Linked DNA regions of Homo sapiens: region 2 is linked to region 1. Evidence: promoter capture Hi-C in human tissues and cell types (Jung and others, 2019). All regions are on one chromosome and are shown on one strand. The core of a region is centred on a gene start or on the middle of the fragment in contact, and the rest is flanking DNA. Distances in the headings are between cores, read along the strand shown. Region 1 holds the start of APOL4 (apolipoprotein L4). Region 2 overlaps MYH9 (myosin heavy chain 9).

Region 1 (4,807 bases), core at 1,964-4,463:
CCACTTACAATCAACAGGGGTCAGGTAGAGGGGATGGGAACCACCCCTTAGGGAGGCCGTACTGTGTGGCAGGCACTGGCTGGCCCAGGTACCCATGTAATGTTTGATCCTCATGACAACATGGGCAAATATCCTAGTGGTGCAGGTGAGGAGGAGTAAGGAGCTCCAGGTCACACAGAGGGGACATGGCCAAGACCAGAATGGGGTCCAGTTCAGTGGGAAGCTGGGTCACTCTACCCACAGGGCCACTCAGAGCAGAGGGGCTGGTGCAGGGCAAGAGCTGGAGGGAGGGGACCGGCCTCTGCTGGAAACACCCCAGGGTCAGCCAGGAGCAGAGAGGGAGGTGAGAGGTCAGGGCTGCTGGTCAACCTCCTCTCCCACCCCTCCGCTACTCCTGGCCAACCCTCAAAAGCCAACCCTGCTGTTTCCATTTCCCCAAGGCTGTCCTGCCCCACTTAAGTCATTTGCTAGGTGTCAGGGTAGGGAGGAAGTGGGCACCTGGGCCATGACCCGCTGAGGAGAGGTCAGGATGCAGATGCCCCCCAGAACCCTGGGTCAGGGGACTCCACGTGGCCTCTCTTGGGGCTTGGGGCAGCCTCATCAGCCACCTCCGTCTGGGTTCCGTTGGGGCTCACTCAGCCTTGAAGACACCACCCTCCATTCTAGCTGTGGGTAGGAACCAGCCAGGGAAGAGGAGGCGAGCCTACCAGCAGCCAGGTCTCTGAAAGGCTTACCTTGGAACTGTCCAGCCACTGTCCAGCCTGGATGGTTTTGCTGCACCCTTGAGGAAGAGAAAACAAATTGTGGGATTGAATGTGAGCCACCTATGGGCAAAGGGAGGCTTGAACAGCTGGGCCTCTGCAGATCCCTCTGAGGTGGCAGCAAATGCCAAGACCAACCTAACCCAGATTCTTTCTCTATCACCAAGTCCCCATCATCTGCTATTTACAGACACTCAACTCATTCCAGCTCCCTCTTCCCTCACTCTCACACCAAGGAAAAGTCCGCTTGTCCTGTTGGAGAATGAGGAGAAGATAATCAGAGGAGGGGCAGCCATCTGATCATTACAGAAACTACACAGTCTATACGCAGAAATAGAGATGGGAAGGAACGTTCTAACAATGACCGGAAACATGTGTGACAACTAATTGATGATAGCCAGTCTGTATTGAGTGTCTGTGATGTGCAGGGCTTCTTTTTTTATTTTTATTTTTATTTATTTATATTTTTTGAGACGGAGTCTCGCTCTGTCGTCCAGGTGGAGTGCAGTGGCGCGATCTCGGCTCACTGCAAGCGCCGCCTCCCAGGTTCACGCCATTCTCTTGCCTCAGCCTCTCGAGTAGCTGGGACTACAGGTGCCCGTCGCCACATTCGGCTAATTTTTTGTATTTTCAGTAGAGAAGGGGTTTCACCGTGTTAGCCAGGATGGTCTCGATCTCCTGACCTCATGATCAGCCCGTCTCGGCCTCCCAAAGTGCTGGGATTACAGGCGTGAGCGGTCGCGCCGGGCCTGTGATGTGCAGGGCTTCTGACATGTGTCTCATTCAATGATCACACACAGCCCGGGAGATGGGTACCACTTTCCCATTTGAACACAGAGGAATCCACAAAAGTTAGGGAACTTGCCAGTGTTTTCTATTGCTAGAGCCAGGACTTCTGCTTCAACCTCATGTCTTCAATGACTGTGCTCTACTCCCTTAAATATACAATATTGAGTCATGTATACACGCTCATGGTAAATGACTCCTCATTGCAAATCCATGTCTCACACTCCGTGCTCAACTTTTCGTCTTGGTGAATTCACTGGTGCTGCAGTGGACAGCCTGTGTCCCCCTTGCTTCTCTAAGATCCTTTGTCCCACAAAGACCTGGATCCTGCCAGATGCCGGCCTAGCCCCTGCTGTGGCTGCCGAGCCCTCCTGGCGCTGCCCTGTTCCCTCTGCTGTCCTCCCCTAGCTGATGGACCTTAGGGTGTTTCTAATTCTTCATGTAAATTATGCTACAAAGAACACCCTCCTTCACGTAAAACTGCCCACATTTGATTTTATTTCCTTAAGATATTTGTAGGAGTAGAATGACTAGGTCAGAGGGTATCAACATCTCAAAATGTTTTATACCTAGAGCCACACTACATGCAAATTGTACCAATTCACACTCAAACTAGCAGTATATGAAGATGCCCATTCTTTCAGTCTTACTGGCTCTCAGTAGTCTCTTTATCAGGACAAAAAATATATACACAACATGTAAATTTGAGAACTAAATATCTTGTTATCAATACCAATTAGTACAAACTTTAAGGCACGAAGGTAGCAGTTGAGATGTGAAGCACTGAACAAAGGAGAAGGAGGATTAATATTGTCATTTTTTAAAGATGGAAGTTAAGAAATACTGGGTACAACTGAGGGTATAAGAAAGTTGTAAGTAAATTGTTTACAGCTACAAAGTTGCTAATGGAAGACATAAAACTGGTGATAGAATGTTAGGAAAAGGTGGAGAGGAGAGATAGAGGGAGGGTACAAATAAGATGAAAATGACTAATAATGATACTATAAATAATAACAATACCATTTCAGGCCCATCCCAGTTAGGGGCGGCTCCAAGCATTACCATTGTTCTTTTCTCACCGTGTGTCTCTGCGCACTCCCTGGCACACCCACTTCCAGCAGCTGGTCTTTGTTTGCAGACTTTATTTTAACAGCTCAGTGGTTCCCGGGCCCCCTGATGGGGTTCCATCCTCCAGCTCTCATACTAAAGCCCCCTCCTCAAAAGCCACTCGCCTCCCTCTTTCCCTTTCCTGCCTTTGTCTCAGGGTTCAGACACACAGATGTCTGTCTTCTGGGGCCCCCATGCAACAAGGGTAAAAGGGGGACCCAGTCCTGGGCAGCATTCACCAGGGGAGTATGCAGAGGGGCGTCTGGGCGCTTCTTGCTGTAAGGGACAGGGGTGACAGGAGAGGGGCATCCCTTCGCCTTCTTCCTGCTTTGTTCACTGTGTGACCCCCTAGGCCAAGGCAACCATCTCAACACCATGAGCCAGTAGAACTGGGAGGACCAGGAGAGAGCAGAGGAGCAGGAGGGCAGAGAGCTGGGGCCTCGGACTCACCCGACGCTTGTGATGAGCTGCACCCAGGATCCCATCCTCCTTGGTCATTGTTGGCCTGGCTCAGACGCTGATCTGGGGCCTCTGCTGAATGTTGAGGCTGGATACTGACTGTTAGCCTCAACTAGGACACAGTGCGTCCCCTCTAGGCGAGTCTACCAGTTGGTCAATTCCGGGAAGTGATTTTGGTTCCTAGAAAAACCCACATGGCTCCTGGCCCAGCCCAAGCCCTGCCCAATTGTGCAGCCCAGACAGGGAGCCCTCCCTCCCACCTCAGGGCTCTGAGCCAAGCTCACCAGATGCAGACGACAAAGATTTTCAGCAAAGCAGCTCCCTCCATGTCGCTGCGGGGCCTCCTCCTTGGGCAGGAAAAGAGGGGTTGAGACAGTGTGCTCCTCCTGAGAAATCACCATTTTCATTTCATTTTTAATAAACCGTTTTGCTGTGTCACCCAGGCTGCAGGGCTTTGACGCCATCCTAGCTCATTGCTGCCTAGATCTGCTGGGCTCAAGTGATCTTCCTCCTTCAACCTTCTGAGTAGCTGGGACTACAGGTGCACGCTACCATGCTGGGCTAATTTGTTAATTTTTGATTTCATAGAGACAGCATCTCCTGTGTTTCTCAGGCTGTCTTGAACTCCTGGCCTCAAGTGATCTTCCCGCCTCTGCCTCCCACAGCACTGGGATTACAGGCTTCAGCTATAGTGCTTTCTATCTTGATGGGCATCTCTTTTTGGTGAAGAAAAATCAGGCCGGGAGCGGTGGCTCACGCCTGTAATCCCAGCACTTTGGGAGGCCGAGGCAGGCAGATCACAAGGTCAGGAGATGGAGACCATCCTGGCTAACATGGTGAAACCCCATCTCTACTAAAAATACAAAAATTAGCCGAGTGTAGTGGCGGGCGCCTGTAGTCCCAGCTACTCGGGAGGCTGAGGCAGGAGAATGGTGTGAACCCGGGAGGCGGAGCTTGCAGTGAGCAGAGATTGCGCCACTGCACTCCAGCCTGGGCAACAGAGCGAGACTCCATCTCAGAAAAAAGAAAAAAAAAAAAAGAAAAAGAAAAATAAGACCACGACTCAGATTTCACAGAAATTACCCCCCTGATTTCATGGACTTTTGGCAGCTCTATCAGGTTTCTGAGAGGGGAAAATCTTAGGCTGGGAGGGGAGGTGACTTGCCCAGAGTCGCACAGCTCTTGGAGAGCAGACGGGAAGCCAACATCTGCCCTTGTGACTCTGCTATTGAAGAAAAACGGGTGATTTTAGTAATCCAACAGTGTCCAGGTTTGATTCTGCTTCTACAAACACAGAGATCTAAGCTCTCACTCCTGTAGTTACACTCACAATTCCACAGGTGGCTTTTGAATCTCATGATTACAAAGCTGGCGTCATGCCACAGGCACCATTCTGCAATGCGACCTTCTCACTCCCCTGTCTCAGCCATGTTTCCTATTGCGGGATCTGGCCAGCAGCCCCCAGTGCAACGGGGCTCTCTCTTTGCTCCTAGGCGGATCGGCAGGTTGAGAAATAATAGACACACACAAGATAGTGAAAGCTGGGTCCAGGGGGGTCACCGCCTTCTGGTCAACAATGCACTGGATATACCAGCATTTATTATTCAGTTTAGTGAGGGCGGGGGTAGGTTAGTGAGGGATTTAGGGTCATTTGATTACGAGGTGGGATGGTCACATGGGGATGAAGTAATTCT
Region 2 (4,935 bases), core at 439-2,938, 100 kb after region 1:
GAAACCCCGTCTCTACTAAAAATACAAAAATTAGCTGGGCGTGGTGGCGTGCACCTGTAACCTCAGCTACTAAGTGAGGCTGAGGCAGGAGAATCACTTGAACGTGGGAGGTGGAGGTTGCAGTGAGCCGAGAACGCACCACAGCACTCCAGCCTGGGCGACAGAGTGAGACTCCGTCTCAAAAAAAAAAAAAAAAAAAGAAAAAAAAAAGAACTGCCCGATTCTACTCCTCAAAGGTAGAAATCCAGGAACAGGGGTAGGAAGAGCCACCTGGGCCTCCCTGACAGGCATGTGACTGGCTGCAGCGGGGTGGCCTGCTAAGTGCCCTTTGGCAACAGAAGGGCGTGGCAAGGCCTGGCATGCGGGGCAGGAGTATCTCCCGGGACTCACTTCCTGGCCAGGTAGCCCCTGCAGCAGGCCTGGAACCCTATGATGACGTCGGTGATCTTCAGGTCTCGCTCCTCCTCCAGGTGGGCCAGCACACCGGCACGGAAGAAGACTTTGCTCTGGCCAATGCGGTACAGATTGCTGTCGAGCTCCAGGGCTTTTATCTAGGTGGGAGGAGCAGGCCGTTTACCTGGCCAGCAACTGGCCACAGCTCCATGAAAGGGTGGCCCAGGCACAGCTGGAGGTGTGCCCTTCACCCTTCTTCTCACTGGCTGACGAGCATCTGGAGAGCAGAAAGCCATCTCCTCTCCCTCCTTCTTCCTGTTCCCTATCTCCCCGTCACCGAACGCAGGCTGTGCACACAGTAGGTGTTGAATTTTTCCTTCTCTTTTCCTCCCACCAACTCCCTACTCTGCAGCCAAAGCTTTCTGATTCTTTAGAAAGAACGTGAAGTAAAACAAGGCCAAAGGTAGCAGCTGCTAACCTGGACACGCCAGAAACAACAGGATGCTGGGAAGGGGAAAAAAGGAGCAGGGTGGGATTCAGCCCTGGCTTGGCACTGAGTCACCGCAGGGCTTTCAATCAACCGGAACTCAGAGCATGCGCACAGCCCGTCCAGCACTGCGCTAGGGCTGGGAGTGGGGAGGGAGGGAGGAGAAGCCCAGGTCACGGAGCACCAGGCCTGCTGCCCTGGCTGTGAGCTGCCCTGCTCACCACACTGGATGTGGAGTCAGGCCCGTGAGCAAGAAAGCAGGAGAATGTCCCCCAAACCAAAGAGGCCATCATCTTACATCAGAGCCCGGCCATGGCTACAGTTCTTGTCTCCTCCACACAACCCTGGTGCCAAACACCATCCCTGGCTATCTGAGGCCTAGGGGCTACTGCAAAGGGCGCCCGGCAGAGTCAGACGCGGAGCATCAGAAGGGACACAGCCTGGGCATCCACCGACCACTGATATAGCAAGGTGGGCCCTGGCCACGTGGGCACTCCCCAGACAAGGGGCTGCCCATCCAGAGAGGCAGGGACAGCAGCTCAACTCACCATGAGCACGCACGCCTGCTTCCCGTCCATGAAACCCTTGGGAATGGAGTTTGGAGTCAGGATCTCATATCTGAGGAAGGAAAGAGAAGCCTGGTCATTTTACCCATTGCCTCGATTCCACATGCCTGGAATATAGGCGAGAGATTAACATCATTTCTACAATGCAACAGACACAGAATTCTTTACACAAACTCTCCTAAGGAAAGAAGACACAGGCAAATCCCACCCCACTCTTTTCTTCGGCTGAATGAGACAAGGAAGCCTTGGTGTTTTCCGGAAAGTGAATGGAAACTCGTGTAGGACCGTTTCAATCACTCAAGGGCGTGCTTCAGGTTGGACTAAGTGCTAATTGCCTGAGATCCTCATCTGTCACCCAGGGACAGCCATGTTCACACAGCTTCCCTGGGACGCTGCAGGGAGCTGCTAATAAACAGAGATGGCCCAAGAAATAAAGGGCTGCGTCCCGACAGCAACTGACACTCAGCACAGTCATTAGAGAAACAGGAAGGTGTCGCCGTCTTCGCACACAGCAACGCACGGCCGTGTTTCATTTCCACAAAGTTCCTGTAATATCCTAGGTCTCTGGCTGATTCTTTTACATTTCTTTTCATAGCTCCTCTAACTGTAGCAAATAGCACCAGGGCCGGCAGTTACTAGGAGCAAAAGTCAACAGGATGATGATGACCTGCATTTCGGTATTAAAATGGGGAAGTCTCCTTTCCTGCAAAGGGTGGAAAAGAGAAGGAGGTGGGGAAGAGCTGGCCAGACTCAGTTCTACATGGATGGAGGACGTCGCTCCCTCACGACAGGATCCTGCCAGGGAGCAGCAGCCCACCTCTGGGACTCACTGCACGCACAGCAGGGCCCAGGAGAAGCGGGCTCCGGGCCCTGGCTCACCTCTGCCGAAACTCCTGGAAGACCACCCTGTTGGGGAAGCCCTGGCGGCAGATACGGATGCCCTCGAGAACACCGTTGCAGCGCAGCTGGTCCAGCACGAGATGCGGGTCCAGCTTGCCGGCCTGGAGAAGAAAACACATGCATGCGGTCTCACTTCCGTGCCTAGAACAGTCGGAGAATAGTCAGGGAACCCCTATGAACCTGACAGGGCAAGAGCCTAAGGGAGGGGGTCGCTACAGCCCACAGGTTTGGACAATGAAGTCAAAGGATCCAGGTCTGGGAGGGGCCAATGCCACCAAGAGGAAGTGCAGGCTGTGAATGTAGCGTATCTCCTAAGCGAGCCAAGGCCCACCCTGCAGAGAAACGACTGAAGGCTCTGTGCATGCTGGGGGGCTGGAGGGGTGCTTTTGCTGGGGAGACAGACAAGGGCTGAGCACCCCACACCACAGTGCCCTGCCCGGGCCACCCCACCAGGCAGCCGCACCTTCTTCTCGTGGTTGGGGATGATGCAGCGGACAAAGTTGGGGTTCGTGTTCCTCAGCGTAGCCATCAGCTTGGCCAGCTGCTCCTTGTAAAGCTGCCCCACAGTGCGGAACATGCCCTTCCGCGTCTTGAAGGCCCCGGGCAGTGCGGTCTCCGACATGCCGGCCACCTGGTCCAGGCCGATGATGCGGTCCACTGTGGAGACCACAGAGAACACGTGAGTGCCCACACAGTTGCAGCTGGGTGGTGGGGGAGCACGTAGGAGAGAGAGACAGGCACACGTCGGACAGGAAAAGAGGAGACAGAATGAAACAACAGGACCCTTTCCAATTGGAGCCTACACTGGGTGCTAAGGTCATCCCCAAACACAGCGGGAAGCCAAGGGGGATGCAAAGGCACTGGGCTTGTCTCTTGGGGAGCCATGCATCTGCCATGGCCACCTCACCTTCCTGTCACCTATCTTCAGCCACTCTCGAAGCTCTTATTTCCAAAAAGACTCAATGAAGCTAGTCATGTATTTTGGAATAGTGAGAATTCTACTAGCCTGGCTCTAACGAGGGGTGTGAAAACCTGGCTTACGGAATCCTGCTGTCCTATGGTCACAGTTAGAAAAAAAAAAAATCAGTATCTTGAATTCTCACTGACCCTGTCATAAGAGCACTCGGCTGGGAGTCAGGAGGCAGAGCTTGGGGCCACCCTGTCACTGTCTGCAGAACCTTGCAGGGTCCCCTCTATATCTACGCAGACATCTCAGGAAGGGAGAGCTCCAAAGAACTGCTCTTGATTATAAATACTCCAAAGTTTAGGGATCTCTTCACGTACTTGTATTTCATTTTGTCTCCTGGTGCACGGGTCTTTCTCATGTAAACCGACCCTCAAGGGAAGCAGCCCCTAGCACTGGAACTCACACCCAGCAGCAATTAAACCAATTGCATCCTCCAAGGTAAAAAACAAACAAACAAGCCAAACCAAAGTGGCCAGCGATTTGAGATCAGTTTAAGCAAGAGCTAATGTTAAATGTGAAGCCTTCTATTACTGGATATAAAAGTGAAGAATACTGACGAAGCCCGTTTCGTATTCCTTCACGGCCAGATTACTATTATTTACTTGAAGACAGCAAAAAGGATGCTTGCTTAAGACAGAAGCCAGGAGTGTGGATGGAGCCTACAAACCAGTCAATTAAAATGGGAGGTGGCTGGGCATGGTGGCTCGCGCCTGTAATCCCAGCACTTTGGGAGGCTGAGGCGGGTGGATCACCTGAAGTCAGGAGTTCGAGACCAGCCAGGCTAACATGGTGAAACCCCATCTCTACTAAAAATACAAAAGTTAGCTGGGCGTGGTGGCGGGTGCCTGTAATCCTAGCTACTTGGGAGGCTGAGGCAGGAGAATCACTTGAACCCAGGAGGCGGAGGTTGCAGTGAGCCGAGATTGCACCATGGCACTCCAGCCTGGGTGACAAGAACAAAACTCTGTCTCAAAAAAAAAAAAAAAGGGAGTCATCTTTGACCTTATGTACCCACCACAGGGTCAATATTCCTGGCTACCACAGGTTTCCTGGGCGTGGTAACTTGCAAAAGCCACTCAGGTTGTCCAGAGAAAGGTTAATGTGGCCTCATCATAACTGGCCCTTTTAGCTGAGTGTGTCCTGGCCCCACCCCCATGGAGCAGACCTTGCCGAGCAACTGTTGAATGAACACACAGATGCCACTTCAGCTTTCAGGTGCACAGACACAGCAGTGTGCATACCTGAACCTCATGCTAAGACACTCGCAGCCATTCAAGCAGTTTAAGACGCTGTCTTTAGGCATGAAGCTCTAAGGAGGATACAAATTTTTAAACAATTTTTGCTGTTTTAAGATTTTTTTTTTTTTTTGAGGCAGGGTCTCACCCTGTCACCCAGGCTGGAGTACAGTGGTGCAATCACAGCTCACTGCAGCCTTGACCTGTGCTCAAGTGATCCTCCCGCCTCAGCCTCCTGAGCAGCTGGGACTACAGGCATGCACCATCACACCCAGCTGATTTTTTTTTTTTTAATTTTTTTGTAGAGATGAGGGTCTCCCTATGTTGCCCAGAATGGTCTCAAACTCCTGGCCTCAAGCAATCCTCCCGCCTCAGCCTCCCAGATTG

What was found. The method cuts DNA at HindIII sites, captures the fragments that hold promoters and counts their contacts. A contact is called where the count stands out against the background at its distance.
Region 2: a fragment that was not itself captured here is called in contact with the fragment with the promoter of APOL4 in region 1 in 4 of the 25 tissues and cell types used here (aorta, mesendoderm cells, pancreas and 1 more).

The regions. Positions count from the first base shown.
Region 1 is chr22:36,198,596-36,203,402 of GRCh38, forward strand. APOL4 (apolipoprotein L4) reads right to left here and starts at 3,214. Exons shown (of 4, transcript NM_001386885.1): 1 at 3,105-3,214; 2 at 735-781. The coding sequence starts at 3,139. RefSeq lists an enhancer at 3,190-3,689. The HindIII fragment of the contact is 28,208 bases long and covers 1-4,807 here.
Region 2 is chr22:36,303,605-36,308,539 of GRCh38, forward strand. It overlaps MYH9 (myosin heavy chain 9), which reads right to left. Exons shown (of 41, transcript NM_002473.6): 16 at 2,810-3,003; 17 at 2,326-2,447; 18 at 1,429-1,498; 19 at 391-551. Among named protein-coding and RNA genes, the nearest start is that of MIR6819, 19 kb to the left of the region's middle. The HindIII fragment of the contact is 4,653 bases long and covers 1-4,015 here.